Linked DNA regions of Homo sapiens: region 2 is linked to region 1. The links are contacts of gene promoters, found by promoter capture Hi-C in blood cells and fetal thymus (Javierre and others, 2016). All regions are on one chromosome and are shown on one strand. Each heading gives the region's core, a stretch centred on a gene start or on the middle of the fragment in contact. The rest is flanking DNA. Distances are from core to core; before and after follow the strand shown.

What was found. Contacts are between HindIII fragments. The CHiCAGO score rates a contact against its expected background, and 5 or more counts as called.
Region 2: a contact is called between a fragment that was not itself captured here and the fragment with the promoter of SHISAL1 in region 1, in 1 of 17 cell types (total CD8 T cells). The highest score is 5.3, in total CD8 T cells.

The regions. Positions count from the first base shown.
Region 1 is chr22:44,308,131-44,315,773 of GRCh38, forward strand. SHISAL1 (shisa like 1) reads right to left here and starts at 4,821. Exons shown (of 5, transcript NM_001099294.2): 1 at 4,621-4,821. LOC101927499 (a long non-coding RNA gene) reads left to right here and starts at 4,881. Exons shown (of 2, transcript XR_244444.3): 1 at 4,881-5,013; 2 at 6,291-6,869. The HindIII fragment of the contact is 15,394 bases long and covers 1-7,643 here.
Region 2 is chr22:44,608,717-44,616,359 of GRCh38, forward strand. The region is part of intron 3 of LINC00229 (long intergenic non-protein coding RNA 229); the gene reads right to left. Among named protein-coding and RNA genes, the nearest start is that of LINC00229, 13 kb to the right of the region's middle. The HindIII fragment of the contact is 5,035 bases long and covers 668-5,702 here.

The DNA.
Region 1 (7,643 bases), core at 3,571-6,070:
GGGTGACACCTGAGCCTCAGTGTCCTCAGCCCTAGAATGGGGACCAACATCGGCATCTAATTCACCAACTAAAGGAAGTGAGGCATGGAAGCCTTGGACAGGCCTGGCCACGTGCTTCTTGCTGCTGCTGTCTCTGACTCTGCCTCTTCCATCAACCCAAGCCCTAGGCGGCCCCCAGAGCCAGCTTTCCCAAGTACCCACCTAATCACCTACCTGCCCCCTTGGGTTCAAGGCTGCGCTCGCACCTGAGGCCCCTTGTGGCCTGGCACTGTGGCCATCTTGCCCTCCCTGTTCCTGGAGCTTCAGCCCTCTGGGTCTGTGGTGCCTCTGGGCCTTTACTCATGCTGTTCCCCTGTGCTAGGACCACCCTTCCCCTCTCCAAAGCCGTAGCCTGGAGGCTCATCCTGGGTGGCCACCTCTCAGGGCAGTTCTTCCCCCGTGATTCTCTCACTCCCCAGGCGAGCTTCTGACACTCTGACTTCCCCCGTCCCCAGGGTGATCTCGGGCTGTCTGGAGGCCATGCTAGGGCAGGGGCTGGGTGGGGTTCATCTGGGGCCAGCATGGGCAGGAGCACTCTGTGCAGCGTGCCTGGTTTGTGTCCTAACTTGAGAGTGAGCTGGGAGAACAGAGCATGGGCTGCCGAGGGTGGCAGAACCATGACCTCTGCCCCAGGGTTGGCCCTCCTTAGACAGGGGCCACGCTCGGGCCTGAACCCCACAGGATGGAGAACAAAGGACAAGTGGCCTGTTCCCCAAACACATCCCACCTACTCTACTGTCATGGGGGGCGGGAGGCTGACCTTGGGGTGAGGATGAGTCTTGCCCAGCATTCTGGGTGTGAAGCGGCTGGTGGCGGAGCTCAGGAGTCTGGGCCTTTGCCCAGCTGGTCCTGCCCGTGGGCATCCCTTTCCCCACCGTGTACGTCCAAACTGAACCTGCCCATGGGGCCTGGCTCAAGTGCCACCTCATCCACAAGCAGCCCCAGTTACCAGCCCTCCTGACCCCACTGGTCAGGGAGCGGTTTCTCTCCTGGTCGCCACTCAGGGATCACCTAACGAGTCTCTACTGTGGACCAACAGTTCTGGGCGTGGGGGATTCCCGCTGCCATAAGGCTTACAGCCTGGGGGGAGGCGGTCACAGACAGTAGATTACGTAATGATGAGTAATTCTATGTGGGCACGATGATTAGCAGTGGTAGCATTAGCACGGATTAGTAATTCAACAGGGCAGGGCTCTCTGGAGCCCCACCAACAGTCCTGCGGGTAGGCAGCGGCCCAGCAGAAGGGCAGGAAGTACAGACGAGGAGACGGGCTAGCAGCTGCAGATCACCCGAGCCCAGGGCAGAGCACGGTGCCCAATGCTCCCCATTCCTCACCCGTTCCCTTCCCACCCAGCCCTATGCTGCACCCTCAGTCTCTCTGTTACACAGATGGAGAATGTGGGGCTCGGAGAGGGGACTCAAACCCCGGGGTCTGCTCCTGTGCCCTGTCTCCACGACTCATAAGAGTGTTTACCCCTGCAGGCAGCACTTGTGTGCATGCCTGTCTCCACACAGCACACACATGTACACACGTGTGCACATATGTATCATCAGGGATGTTTAACCTCCACAAGTTTCCCAGTCTCCAGGGCCTTTCCTCGGCAGTGCAGACCTAATCCTGAGTTTGTGAACTTTTGTTTTCAGGACATCCACTTAGAGGTTATGAAATCTCACTCTGAAACGTGAAGTCCAGGAATAAACACTTCTCGAGGCTCCACGCCTGCATATGAAGTGAGATCAAAGCATGTCTTTGTGACCCCTTCATGCTTGCAGGGGGAAGCGGCAGGAGAGAACTAGGACATCTTTCCTCGCTGTGCTGGCCAGGACCGAGGCAGCCAGAGTGTATGGCTGGAGAAGGACAGAGAAGCAGCCCGTTCGCCTGCAGCTGGGGTGCCGGGCTCCACGGCTGACAGTGAGTGAGAAGGGCCAGCACCTCACACCCTAGTAACGGCCAATGTGACCTGAGCCCTGCTGACCTGATGCCTAGCCCTGCAGCGGTCACATCCCCGAACCCAGCCCTGCTGAGACCATTTCGTTTTTGCTCATCTCTATGGGCAGCACAGGCCTGACACGTAGTAGGCACTTTATAAACATGTGTTAATTGGTTGAATGAACATAAGCAATGATCATCTCCATTGCTGAGATAAATAAACCACAGCTCAGAGAAACTAAGTGATTGCCCAGAGCTGGAGGGTGGAAGGTTTGCAATCTGAACCCAGGTTTGCTCGACTCCAGACAGGGTGCTGGGGGCGACCACATAGGCTTTGCAGCGAGTCTCCTTGGCCTTGGATCAGAGCTTTATCACTAACTAGCTGGGTGATCTAGGGCAAGTTACTTCACGGGCTTCAGCTTCCTCATCTGTGAAACGGGAGCCGTGCCCCACACCTTGCAGGTATACCAAACATAGAAAGGACCAGAAGCTAGCAGGGCACCCAGAACATTAGCAGCTGATCCATAAACCGTTCTTATCCGATGTTGCCTACTCTACTGTTCCCAAAGCTGATGGTTTAGGTACCAGAGAGGGTCCTGTGTGCCCCTTGGCAAATGAAATTGTGTTTGAACTCCATGTCTACGTCTGATTTCCCCAGTTCATCTTTCCGTGCTTTGCTTGTTCCTTTAGTTGGCACGGATTTCCCTCTGCCTTACCTGTTGGTTTACTGCTTCCCTGCCTAGTACAAGCTCTTCAAGGGTGGGAAATTTTGTGCCTCTGCATCGCCCCACCATGCTTTGCACACAGTAGGTGCTGAATAAATGTCTGCCGGCCATAGAGTAGGAACTCCATTAGCACTCGTTGGCCTGGTTTGTTTTATTGCAAAGAGCAAACTTCCAGATGGGAACAGCAGAGATCCAGGCAGGAGATCTCCTTCAACTGAGACATGGCCTCAACTTTTACGGCCACCACCGGGAGTGACCTTGGGCCATCAGCCCTGGGTGGAAGTCCCTTATTTTAGCCTAGAAACCCAACTCCAGGGCTCCAGTGGGACAGGTCCCCCTAAGTCCAGGGGAGCTGAGGTGGGCCGGCTCACACCCCCTGGGCCCTCACTGTCTCCCTACCAGGCGGGCATACCACTTGCTCCATGGGGCTGCTCTCAGGGTCAGGGCCACGAGGAGAAGCACACTGCCACGAAGGGTGCTGGCCTGGGTGCTGGAATTGGGAAGGCACGCAGGTGACCTCCAACGTGGAAACCTCTCCTATCTCCCCAGATCCCTCCCTCAGTGGATAACCATTCCAGTGTATCCCTAATAAGGCTCTTGTCCCTCACTGACACCTTTCCCTGCTGAATCCACCATGCCCCAGCCAGCTGGGCTCTGAGTCCAAGTTACAAACTCAGCTGTTTCAATGGTTCCCCCTTTTGAGCCCCTGGCCTGGGCCAGTTCTGCACCCATCAAAGTTCTCTGCATGTGCTACTGTCTCGAATGTTGGAAGTAGGCACCACTGTGATCCCATTTTACAGATGAGGAAGCTGAGGCCTGGGGAAAGGGGGACTTGAGCGAGAACACACAGCTGAAAGGGGCTTAGCTGGAAACCCCAACCCTGCTGAAGGCCCTAGATGCCCCACTGTCCTCCAGGGGGCCACACTGGGTCACAGGGCGAGGGGCTCAGGCCAGACTCAGTTTCCTCCCCTATTAAAGGGAGAGCTTGGCCGAGACAATCATGGGCCTTCTTCAGCTCAACAACCCTTTGTTTCTCTCTGTCCTCCTGAGTTATTTGGTTGCACCATGGAGATAAAACAACCCCTGGAAATCCCAGAGGCATTTTTTTCCCACTGGAGAAACACAAAAATATCACATGAAGAATGAATCACTTAAAGTGTCAGGGCAGGAAGAGGAAAGACAGGCATGGCGCTCGCCTCGGGGTGGGGGTGGCTCTGGGTTTCTCTTCAGCTCCCTCAGCCTCCCTGGTCCCCAGAACCCCTTCCTCACTGGAGTGAAGAGAAGCCAAAGCCCTAAGCCTCAGTTTCCCAATCTGTAAATGGGGACAACAAACCTGCCTTGAAGGCGTATTCGGAGGGGCCAATGCATTCATTTGTTCGTTCATTCATTCATTCATTCATCTATTCACTTATTTCGTACCGGTGTGATGCTGGACTGGGACTGCAGACTCTGAAGTGGGTCGAACAGACCCACCTCACCCCCGTGAAGCCAACCAAATGCCCTCCAGGCCATGACTAGGGCATCCTGAGAGCACTCCCTAGGCCATGCCGGACCCTCCCCCGAGCCTTTGGCCTTCTCTCCAACCCCTCTCTATGCAAGGCTCTTGACACAAGGACACTGAGGCACAGAGACGGTCAGCAACTTGCTCAAGGTCACACAGCAGGTAGGTAGTAGCACCAGCATCTGTGCACCCCCACAGGGCTCCCACCCCTCTAGATCAGAGCCTGCTCCCCATCTTGCCCCACTGGCATAGCCGTCACCCCGGCCCCTCCCATTCTTCTGTGACTAGGAGTCACTTAGCAGCCTTGCCTGGCTTCTCCCTTAGACCCAGTGCTTAGCCAGGGCAGGGACCCCAGGGTCAGCGTGAAGGAACAGAGGTGCCCCTGCACAGTGAGGACCTGGAAACCTCCACAGGCTGCTCCTTACCTGCCGAGCCCTGTGACTGAGGGATCAGAAGCCCCCTCCGCTGGCTGCGGTCTCCCTGCAGCTGCTGGCCTCTTCCCCGGCTCCTGGTTGCCACCAACCTTAAACCCCAATAAAAGGAGAGCAACTTGGTCGAGCCTTGTATAGGCAAAAGAGTGTTTTCCAGCGCAGGCTGGCCTCTGTGTGCTGACAAGAATTCAGTGTGCTCCTCAGGGCGGGGAGTGGGGCTAGGGCGCTGAGTCAGCCCTGCAGGAGTCCAGCTCCCGCCTGGGCCTAGGGCCGCCACCTCCCAGGCCCAGGATGGCAGCGGCTGCTCCCGCAGTCCCCACGCACTCCAGCCTCTGGTCTTACAGCCTTGTGCATCCTCAGAGCACCAGCAAGAGCCCCATTTTACAGGTGAGCAAACTAGAGACACTCCCTGTGAGATCCCACAGCTAGAAGCAGCAGGGGCTTAGACCCAGGGCACCGGGCTCCAGGTCCGCACCTCAGCAGATGCTTGGCACAATACATGTGGGTTCCCTCCCGTGGCCCTCAGTCTCTGTTGGGCAATGGAGGTCAGTGGCACCACTGCACAAGCCCCTCTGGCCAGCATGGCCCGGGGAGGGGTGTGGGTAAAACAAACGGTCCCCACACCAGCCCGGGGAGGAAGGGTAGCTGGGACCCGAGAGCCCACAGAGGGTGTGTGGCACCTGCCTGACTCCAAGCTGGGCTGATCTTCCTGCTGTTGCCCCCCTACCCCTGGCCTGTCCCCACCCAGCAGCAGAGGGTCCTCCCTGCCAGTAGGAATGGGGTGGGGATGGGGCAGGAACAGGGCGGGGGATGCCCACACCTGCCACTGTTCGAAACACATCAGTGGCTTCCATGACTGTCTGGACACAGCCCAGGGGCCTGGCTGGCCTCTGCAGCCACACTTCCTGGGTGCCAGGCACCCCCCCAGCCCATGGCCGTCTCCCACCCCTGGGCCTTCGTGCATCGTGGTACCTTGGCGGCGCCCTTGGCTGGCTTCTGGGTGGCATTTAAACGCAGCCATAAAGGAGGCCAGCCCTCCTCTGCCTCCCACCCATCCCTGGAAGCCTGCCCATCCTGAGCCAGGCCAGAAATAAACCTCCTTTTTCCATTCCTTTCGGTGGACAGAGAGCGAGTTCAGACTGGTCTGGGTGCCCCTCATCTAACCACGGTCCCAACAATGGCAGCCCAGAGCGATGGGTGCCACGATGGGAAACCAGGGGGCTATGGGCGCCCAGAGTGCCTGATGCAGCCTGACGGGGTAGGGGCCGGGAGTGGGGGTGGTATTTATTTAATCTTCATGATTAGGAGGGGCTGTGATTATCCCCAATTTACAGATGCGGAAACTGAGGTACAGAGTTTCAGTAACTCGTCCTGGGTCGCCTGGCTGGGGACTCAGACCAGGGGGTCTGGTGTGGACACCTGAAGGATGAGTCGGGCGGTGGGGCGGGGGTGGGGGTGGGGGAGTGTTCCTGGCAGAGGGAACAAGGCACACAAAGTTCCTCCTGCCTCTTGTCTGGGGCTCAGCATAGCAGCAGAGAAACAAAAGGGCTCTGAGCTTGGGGTTTGAACACGGGTTCAAGTCCCTTGCCGCTTCTCAGCTGTGTGATCCTGGGCATGTTTCTCTGTCTCTCTGAGCCTGGACTGCCCTGTGGATTTTGTTATAGTTCAAAGCAGACCTCCTGTGCACCAGATCTGGAACACCTATGACATAGAAAAGTATGGGTCCGCCAATGACATTTACTCCTTGCGATCCACCCTACGAGGCAGGAATTTTAAAAGTTCACCTTTGACAGAGGTTGGAAGCACAACAAAGACCAACCTGCCTGGCAGACCGGGGTGAGGGCTGCCTGGAGGGAAGGTGACCCCACCTCAGGGAGGCCACTGTGACCACATCCTCTTGCACAGTGGGTCTTTGCCTCAGCAACTGTGGGGGAGGAAAAGCACCAACATCCCCTCTCGGCCGAGGGGACCAGGCTCTAGAAAGCTCACAGCGGCGCTATGGAAAAACCTGGAGACAGCCCTGGAGACGGCCCAGTGGATGAATAGGAAAATGCATGGTGTTATGGCCAAACACCGGAACACTCTTCAGCTACCCAAATGCACTGCAGCCGCACAGAACATTACGGGGCATCTCAGCGCTATGAGGCTAGAGAGAAAGTAAAGTCTCCAAAGATGAAGTTCAGCACAGTACGCTTTCTAGAAGGCTAAAAAGAACTGTAAATAAAATGTTCTTTTTGAGAGTGCATCTGGCTATAGCAAGGCATACAGCGGGACGTGGGGTGAAGTGGGCCCTGCTTGGGAGCGCACAGGCTGACGTTCCTGCTCTCAGGCTGAGGGATGGGTCAAGGATGTTTCTTATATTATTAACAAACAAACAAGTAAATAAAGAAGTCTTGGCAAGGACTGCCGAGGGCGAATACCAGGAAGCAGGCAGAGACATGGGCCTGACTCCATGGCCTGGAGTCTGGAAAATAGAATAGAAAATCAAGGTTCAAAATATATGTAAAGAAAAATAATGATTACAGTACCCCCCAGCCCCCATCCATTGCACACAGGCCCACCCCTCTGGGCAGCTGAGACCCACACAGGGGCCTGGGTGGGGACTGCAGAAGCTGCTTTGGCCTGGCTGGGGGTCCCTGAGAAAGGAGCGTTTTTTTCCGGTTCACAGTCCCAGGCTGCTGGGTGTGGTGCCGGAACTGTCCAATTCCAGTAGGGAATCGGTGTGAATTCCCAGCCTCCTCCTACTGAGCCCACATACACCTCGTCCCTTTGAGACCCTCCCAGTTATAAACTCTCTGTGCCTCAGTTTCCCCATCTATAAACTGAGGACACCAGGCCATATAACATCCTCCTATATTTCCATGTTTGGAACTGAGCTGGTGGCCCCATGTCACCTGGGCCACAGAATCCCAATGCTGCTTCTTACGCTGTTGTTACCTGCCTGGCGGGTCACCTGCCTCGAGGAGGCTTGGTTTCTTCCTTTGTGGATGGTGCCATGCCTCCATCCTGGCCCCTCC
Region 2 (7,643 bases), core at 1,935-4,434, 300 kb after region 1:
CCCCGAAGCAGCCTGCCATGAGGCCCAGACAGCCTGTCCCATCCCAGCCCAGGCAGGATTAATATGCATGTATGGTAATCAGCGAAGCCCAGCAATTTGCATAACAATCAGAGGGAGTGTCCCCTCTCCTGGACTGCTTCCAAGGGCAGCTCCCACCCTGGTTCCCCACAAGACAGCAGGGGAGGGTATGATGGGGCCCCTGGACCCCCCAAGTGCTAGACCGGTGGCCTGGCTTTCAGCCCTGGAGGCTTCAGCCTGGAGAGGGCGGGATAGGTGGGGTACGGGGGTCCTTGGGCAGGGGAAGATACCAGTGAGACACTCATCTGACTGTCTCCAGAACTGTTTCCCGCATTCTTGAGGCCATGCTGGGGAAGCAGGAGAGAAACAAGGGTGTGGCCTCTCCTGGGCCTGCGTCCTGGGGAGGTGTGGAGTTGGGGGGCTCCGGGAAGGGACTCTGCTCGCCTCATCGAGGGGGCCTCTCCTGGGCCTGCATCCTGGGGAGGTGTGGAGTTGGGGGCTCTGGGCAGGGACTCTGCTTGCCTCATTGAGGGAGCCTCTCTTGAGCCTGAAAAATTGGGAAGGTGCCAGGACTCCCTTATAAGGTCGTTTGCCCTTAAGGAGATGGAGGAGAGTGTGTTCTGGAAGCAGCACCGTCCCCCATAAATGAAGCTTCTTATGACTCGGCTGCTTGGCCAACCTCACGGAGCCCCTTCCTTGGGCCCCTGGGGACACAGAGATGCCTGGGCATGGCCCCATCCCTTCTTAAGGGCTCGGCAGAGAGCAGCCAGGCCCTGCAGATCACCCTCATGCACGGGCCAGTCCAAGGTTTCCAGCATCTTGGTAGCTCTGCAGGCAGCGCCCTTCCCCGAGGGGGTCTTAGGCTGTCCCTCCGAACAGATCCCCACTTGCAGGAGGCTGGGCTCTGCTCTCCAAATGCTTGTCCATAATAATGAAACCCTTGCACATCTGCCCAGCACCTAGGAGCTGTCCAGAGTACCACCACATCCCGACCCCTATCACCCCGTGACGGCCCCTCAGTGGGCACTGGAACAGTGGAGCTCAAAGAGGAAGGATCTGGTGCCACCACGCCCCACCCCAGATCAGAGGTAGGAAAACCCAGGACTCAAGAGAGCTGGTCCAGGCCCTGCCCACCATGTCCATCACCCAGCCATCCATGGGCACAGTATGAGCTGGCCCAGGCCCTGCCCACCACGCCCATCACCCAGCCACCCACTGGCACAGTGCCCAACCACTCTTCTCCCCCGCCCCCTGCCTACTCTACTCAGTGACCAGATGAATCTTCTAGCTCCTCCTCTGCCCTGACCTCAGGTGACAAGCTGTGGCTTGCTGGGGAAGCCCAGTGGCTCACCGGGCACCAAAGCCCTCCCTGCAGGTGAGGACCAAGGAGCCCACCCAGCTGGTGCGGAGGCAGGAGGGACACGTCTGCCCTGCACTCTGAATCATGCAGGCATTTGATCCTTAATAACAATATGAGGAGGAGCTGTATCAAGTCTCAGGGTTTTTATGGGCCAAAAGTGATCCCACATTGGCAATTTCGTATAGTTCAATGTGATCATAATTATTAAGGTGTTAGGAGCCCTCTTAACAGAGCAGGCATCGTTCCAAGTTCTTTACACGTGTTTACTTCACCAGCATTTCTGACAGCCGTATCAGACGGCCCATGATGAGGACATAGAGCTCAGAGAAGTGAAGTAACTAACTCAATATCACACCTCTCCCACACACCTAACAGAATGGCTAAAATGAAAAATAATGACACCAGACACTCACAAGGATGTGAAGAACCCGGATCATGATATGCTGCTGCTATGGATGTCTTGGGACAGACACACTGGAAAAACAGCTTGGCTATTTCTTAAAAAATCTAAACATAGGCCGAGCGCGGTGGCTCACATCTGTAATCCCAGCACTTTGGGAGTTTGAGACCAGCCTGGCCAACATGATGAAACCCTGTCTACTGAAAATACAAAAAAATTAGCCAGGCATGGTGGTGCGTGCCTGTAATCCCAGCTACTCGGGAGGCTGAGGCAGGAGAATCGTTTGAACCCCAGAGGCAGAGGTTGCAGTGAGCTGAGATCGTGCCACTGCACTCCAGCTGGGCAACAAGAGCAAAACTCCGTCTCAAAAAAAAAAAAAAAAAAACTAAACATATAATTACCGGGTGACCCAGCAATTGCATTCCTGGGCACTCGTCTTAAAGAAATAAAACATCTGCACAAAAACCTGTACACAAGTGTTCATAGCAGCTTGACTTGTCATAGCCAAAACTGGAAACAGCCCTGATGTCCTTCATCCACCAATGGTTAAACAGGAACATCCAGGCCAGGCGCGGTGGCTCACGGCTGTAATCCCAGCACTTGGGGAGGCCAAGGCAGGCAGATCACCTGAGGTCAGGAGTTCGAGACCAGCCTGGCCAACATGGATAAACCCTGTCTCTACTAAAAACACAAAATTAGCTGGGCGTGGTGGCGCATGCCTGTAATCCCAGCTACTTGGGAGGCTGAGGCAGGAGAATCACTTGAACCCAGGAGGCAGAGGTTGCAGTGAGCCAAGATCATGCCATTGCAATCCAGCCTGGGCAACAAGAGGGAAATTCCATCTCAAAAAAAGAAAGAAAGAAAGAAACAGGAACATCCAGGCCGTGGGACCGTACTCTGCAGTAAAAAGGAACTATTAATCCACTCAGCAAGCTGGAGGAATCCAGGGAATTAGGCTGAGTGAATAAAAGCAATCCCAAAAAGTATGATGCAGCACAAGTCCGTGTATACATTTTTGTAATGAAAAAACTTTAGAATTGGAGGACAGATAGGTGGTGCCAGGGATTAGGGATGTGGAAGAGGGGTGGGTGTGGCCATAAAAAGGTAACTCCAACTCCAAGGATTCTCATGGTGATGGAGCTCTTCCACACCATGACAGGGGTGGTGGAGACAGGAACCTGCACAAATGATAAAGCTGTACAGAATTCACACACACACACACCCACGCACACACACATACACACTAGTACAGGCAAACTGGAGAAATCTGAATAGGATTGGTGGATTGCCCCAGTGTCCATTTCCTGGTTGTACTATTATTGTACTATAGTTTTGCAAAATATTGCCATCGAAGGAAACTGGGCAAAATGTGTAAAGGACACCTTCCTGTTCTTCTTTTTTTTTTTTTTTGAGACAGAGTCTTGCTCTGTTGCCCAGGCTGGAGTGCAGTGGTGCCATCTCTGCTCACTGCAACCTCTGCCTCCTGGGTGGTTATAAGTAAAATGCTTATTCCCTTAGAAATGCTTGTTCCTTGGTGCCAAAAAGAACAACTAGAGCTCAGACAAAGAATTTTCTCAGCAAGGCAACTTTGCTTTCTGCAGAAAGGGTGCTCCTCACAGATGCAGCAATGGCGAGAGCACACCTGAACAAAGGAGGGAAGCAATTTTTATCCCTTATGCGGTTTGTCCCTGCTACTGTGTCCTGTCTCCATTGGCTGGAGCTGGACCTCACAATCTAAGCTAAACCTGACTGGTTAATAACTTAAAACTTTCCTAAATAGGTAAAGTCAAGGGAGAACAAAGGAAAAGAGGAAGTTGCTTATGAAAAGACTTAGAGAAGTAATAACATTTCCAAATAAAGAAGGTGCATAAGCTGTGAGCTGGGACATGCCTGAGCATGTCTAGAACAAATACCTTGGTTAAAGTACAAGGACATAGAATGCACTCATTCCCTTATATCTAAAAGCTACCTAGGATAGGGCTTAACAAACAGTTATTAGCACAAAGCAAGGAGGCTTGAAGGAAGTTAGCCTTTAAAAGAAACTATTATTTCTAACACTTATGATTTATTCTTTAACAAGAAGGGAAACTTTGAAGAGGAATCTTTTTACTTTCCACACTGGGTTCCAGTGATTCTCCTGCCTAAGCCTCCTGAGTAGCTGGGATTACAGGGGTGCACCACCATGACCAGCTAATTTTTAGTAGAGACGGGGTTTCACCATGTTGGTCAGGCTGGTCTTGAATTCCTGGCCTTAAGTGATCTGCCCACCTCAGCCTCCCAAACTGCTGAGATTATAGGTGTGAGCCACTGCACCTGGCCTCCTTGCTATTACTTTTTTTTTTTTTTTTGAGACAGAGTCTCACCCTGCACTGGAGTGCAGTGGTGCGATCTCAGCTCACTGCAACCTCCACCTCCTGGGTTCAAGCGATTCTCCTGCCTCAGCCTCCCAAGTAGTTGGGACTATGGCCGTGTGCCACCTTGCCCAGCTAATTTTTGTATTTTCAGTAGAGACAGGGTTTCACCGTGTTGGCCAGGATAATCTCAATCTCTTGATCTCATGATCCTCCTGCCCCAGCCTCCCAAAGTGCTGGGATTAAAGGTGTGAGCCACCGCACCCGGCCTATTACTTCTTACAACTGTGTGTGCATCTACAATTATCTCTATGTTTTTAATTAACATTTTCTTTAAAGATGGCAAATTAAAAAAAAAAAAGGCTGTCACCACCCAGAGGAACCTAATGGGACATGACAACTAAATGTCATGTGGGATCCTGAGTGGGATCTTGGATCAGAAAAAGGATGTTAGGTTAAAAACGAACAAAACTGAATAAAATATGGGCTTTTGTTAATGAGAATGTTAGCAACATTGGTTTAATACTCGCATCAAATGTACCATGCTGATGCAAGATGCTAAAAATAGGAGAACTAGGGGCAGGGTGTGTGGGAACTCTCTGTATTATCATCTTAATTTCACTTGTAAGTCTACAAATGTTCTTTAAAAAAGTCTACTTAAAATTTTTTGAAGATACCAAATAACTACTTTATAAAAAGGTTTGAAAGCACCTGTGAAAGCTACATTGAGTCCAACCCTTTGACCCAGCAATTCCACTCCTAAATATATACCCAAAAGTAATGAGATCTTGTGTCCACCAAAGGCATATAAAATAAAATTCAGTCAGGCATGGTGGCTCATGCCTGTAATCCCAGCACTTTGGGAGGCTGAGGCGAGTGGATCACCTCAGGTCGGGAGTTCAAGACCAGCCTGGCCAACATGGTGAAACCCCATCTCTACTAAAAATACAAAAATTAGCTCGGCGTGGTAGAGCATGCCTGTATCCCAGCTACTCGGGAGGCTAAGGCAGGAGAATTGCTTGAACCCAGGAGGCGGAGGTTGCAGTGGGCCAAGATCGTGCCACTGCACTCCAGCCTGAGTGACAGAGTGAGACTCCACCTCAAAAAAAAAGAAAAGAAAATTCATAACAGCTTTTTTCAAAGTAGACAAAAACTGAAAACAAACCCAATATCCATCAATAGGAGAAGGGATGGTAAATTAGGTATATTCATACAATAGAATAATACAAATAAAAAGGGAACAAACAACTGCTCCTTTTTGTAAATGGGCAGATCTTGTGAGAATAACGATAAACAGAAGAACTCAGACAGAAATGGCTCTGGCTGGGATGATTCTGGGGACGTGAAGCTCAAGAACAGACAAAACTACCTGCAGTGCCAGAAGCCGTGGCACCACCAGGGTAGGAAATGTGCTGAGGGAGAGAGAACACAAGGACACCTTGGCCAGGTGGCAGCCACAAGGGTGTATAGATGTGTATGTATGTTATCATACATTTTTTATAGCAAAAATAAATTTTGAAAAAAGATCACACATGTTATGGACTGAATGTGTCCCCCCAAATTCATATGTTGAAGCTTTGAGACCAGGTTCAGTGGCTCATGCCTTCAAACCAAGCACATTGGGAGGCCAAGGCAGGAGGAGCCCTTAAACCCAGGAGTTTAAGACCAGCCTGGGCAACATGGCCAAACCTTTTCTGTACAAAAAATGTTTTAAAACCTTAGCCAGTGTAGTGGTGCATGCCTGTGGTCCCAGCCACCCAGGAGGCTGAGGTAGGAGGATTGCTTGAGCCCAGGAGGTTGAGGCTGCAGTGAGCCATGATTACACCACTGTACTCCAGCCTGGGCAAAAGAGTGAGACTCTATCAAAAAAAAAAAAGAAAAAAAAAAGAAGAAGCTAACCTCCAATGTGATAGTACAGTATATGGAGGTGGAGTGTTTGGGATGTGATTAGGTTTAGATAAGGATGGGGCCCCTGTGATGGGATTAGTGGCCTTATAAGAAGAGGAAGAGACACTGTAACTGCCCTCTTCCTCCTCCTCCCCTTCATGCTCCTCTCTCTCCCTCTCCCTTGTGAGGACCCAGTGGCCATCTGCAAACCCAAGGAGAGAGCCCTTGCCAGGACCTGAATCCACCAGCCCCTCGAAGTTGGGCTTCCAGCATACAGAATTATGAGAGATGAACATCCTTTGTTTAAGCCCCTAGTCCATGTTATTTCGTTCTAGAATCCCAGGCAGGCTAAGTCTACACAGCAGGAAAATGTTGAAGCCAAGTAGGAACCCAGAGGTCTGGTTTGCAGAGCTTTAACCGTGACGACCCCATGCTCATTTTCCCAAAGAAGACTCTAGAAACCTGAACCCGCTCCCCCCATCAACTCCCTGCTGCCCCAGCAAAGGGCTCCAGCTGCTCTGGATGATGTGGAAGCCAGGGCGCCATTGACATTTTGTGCAAGGTAACTCCCTGTGGTGGGGCCTGACCTGTGCATCGCAGGCCCCAACCACGCCTCTGGCCTCTACGCAGTAGCGCCAGCAGCCCACCTCCCCACAACTGTGACAACCAGAAATGTCTCCACACGAGTGTCTCCTGGGGGGCAAAGTCGCTGTGCTGAGAACCGCGGCTGCATGGGAAGTTGGCACACAGCCGGGAGAGTCGGCACCAAAGAGGAATAACAATTAAAGCGGCGATAATAAATGCAACAATAACAGTGACTGTAGAAACAACAATAATTTTGATAATCACAACCATAACAAAAGTGATCGCAGTAGCGGGGATAGCACCACGCACAAACTCACAATGCAACAGTAGGGATAATAAACAGCATGACACGGCTAATGACAGCACTAGTGTGGGGGTTTGCTGAGAGTGGGTGCACTGGGGTCCTGTCTCTCCAGCCCCCTGTGAAGACCCAGTGGCCACCTGCAAACCCAAGGAGAGAGCCCTTGCCAGGAACTGAATCCACCAGTCCCTCGAAGTTGGGCTTCCAGCATGCAGAAGAGGGCAGTTATGGTGTCTGAGCCAAGCTCAGAACCCTCCCCCCCGTCTCTCCAGCTCCCTGTCCCTGTGGAGGTGACTTCACCCTCTCTGAGAACAGGATCCTCCTCTATAGGTGGCCAGGTGGGTCAGCTGAGGTCATCCCTGGAGAGCACTCAGCCAGGGGCCCGGCTTCCAGGGAGTATGGTAAATGGTCCCTGCACCTCCCGGGGGGGATCTGTGCCCAGGGAAAGAAGAGGTTTTTGCCCAGGCCTGCAGGTTGGGCCCTGAGCATCAGGAGGGATCTGAGGATTCTCCCTGGTGCTTGGTTTGTCTCCAGAAGGAGCCCAGGACTCTGGAGACTCGGGTTCCAGTGACTCTGCCCACACCTGGCTATAGGACTCGGGCCAGCCCCTCCACCTCCAGTCTCGGACAGAGAATGGAAAAACGAGCTCTGACCTTTAGACTGACCTCCAGTCCTGCTGTCCTTGGAGCCCTCTCCCTTCTGGTCAAGTCCTCTTTTTTAGGGACACTTCTCCCCAGCCCC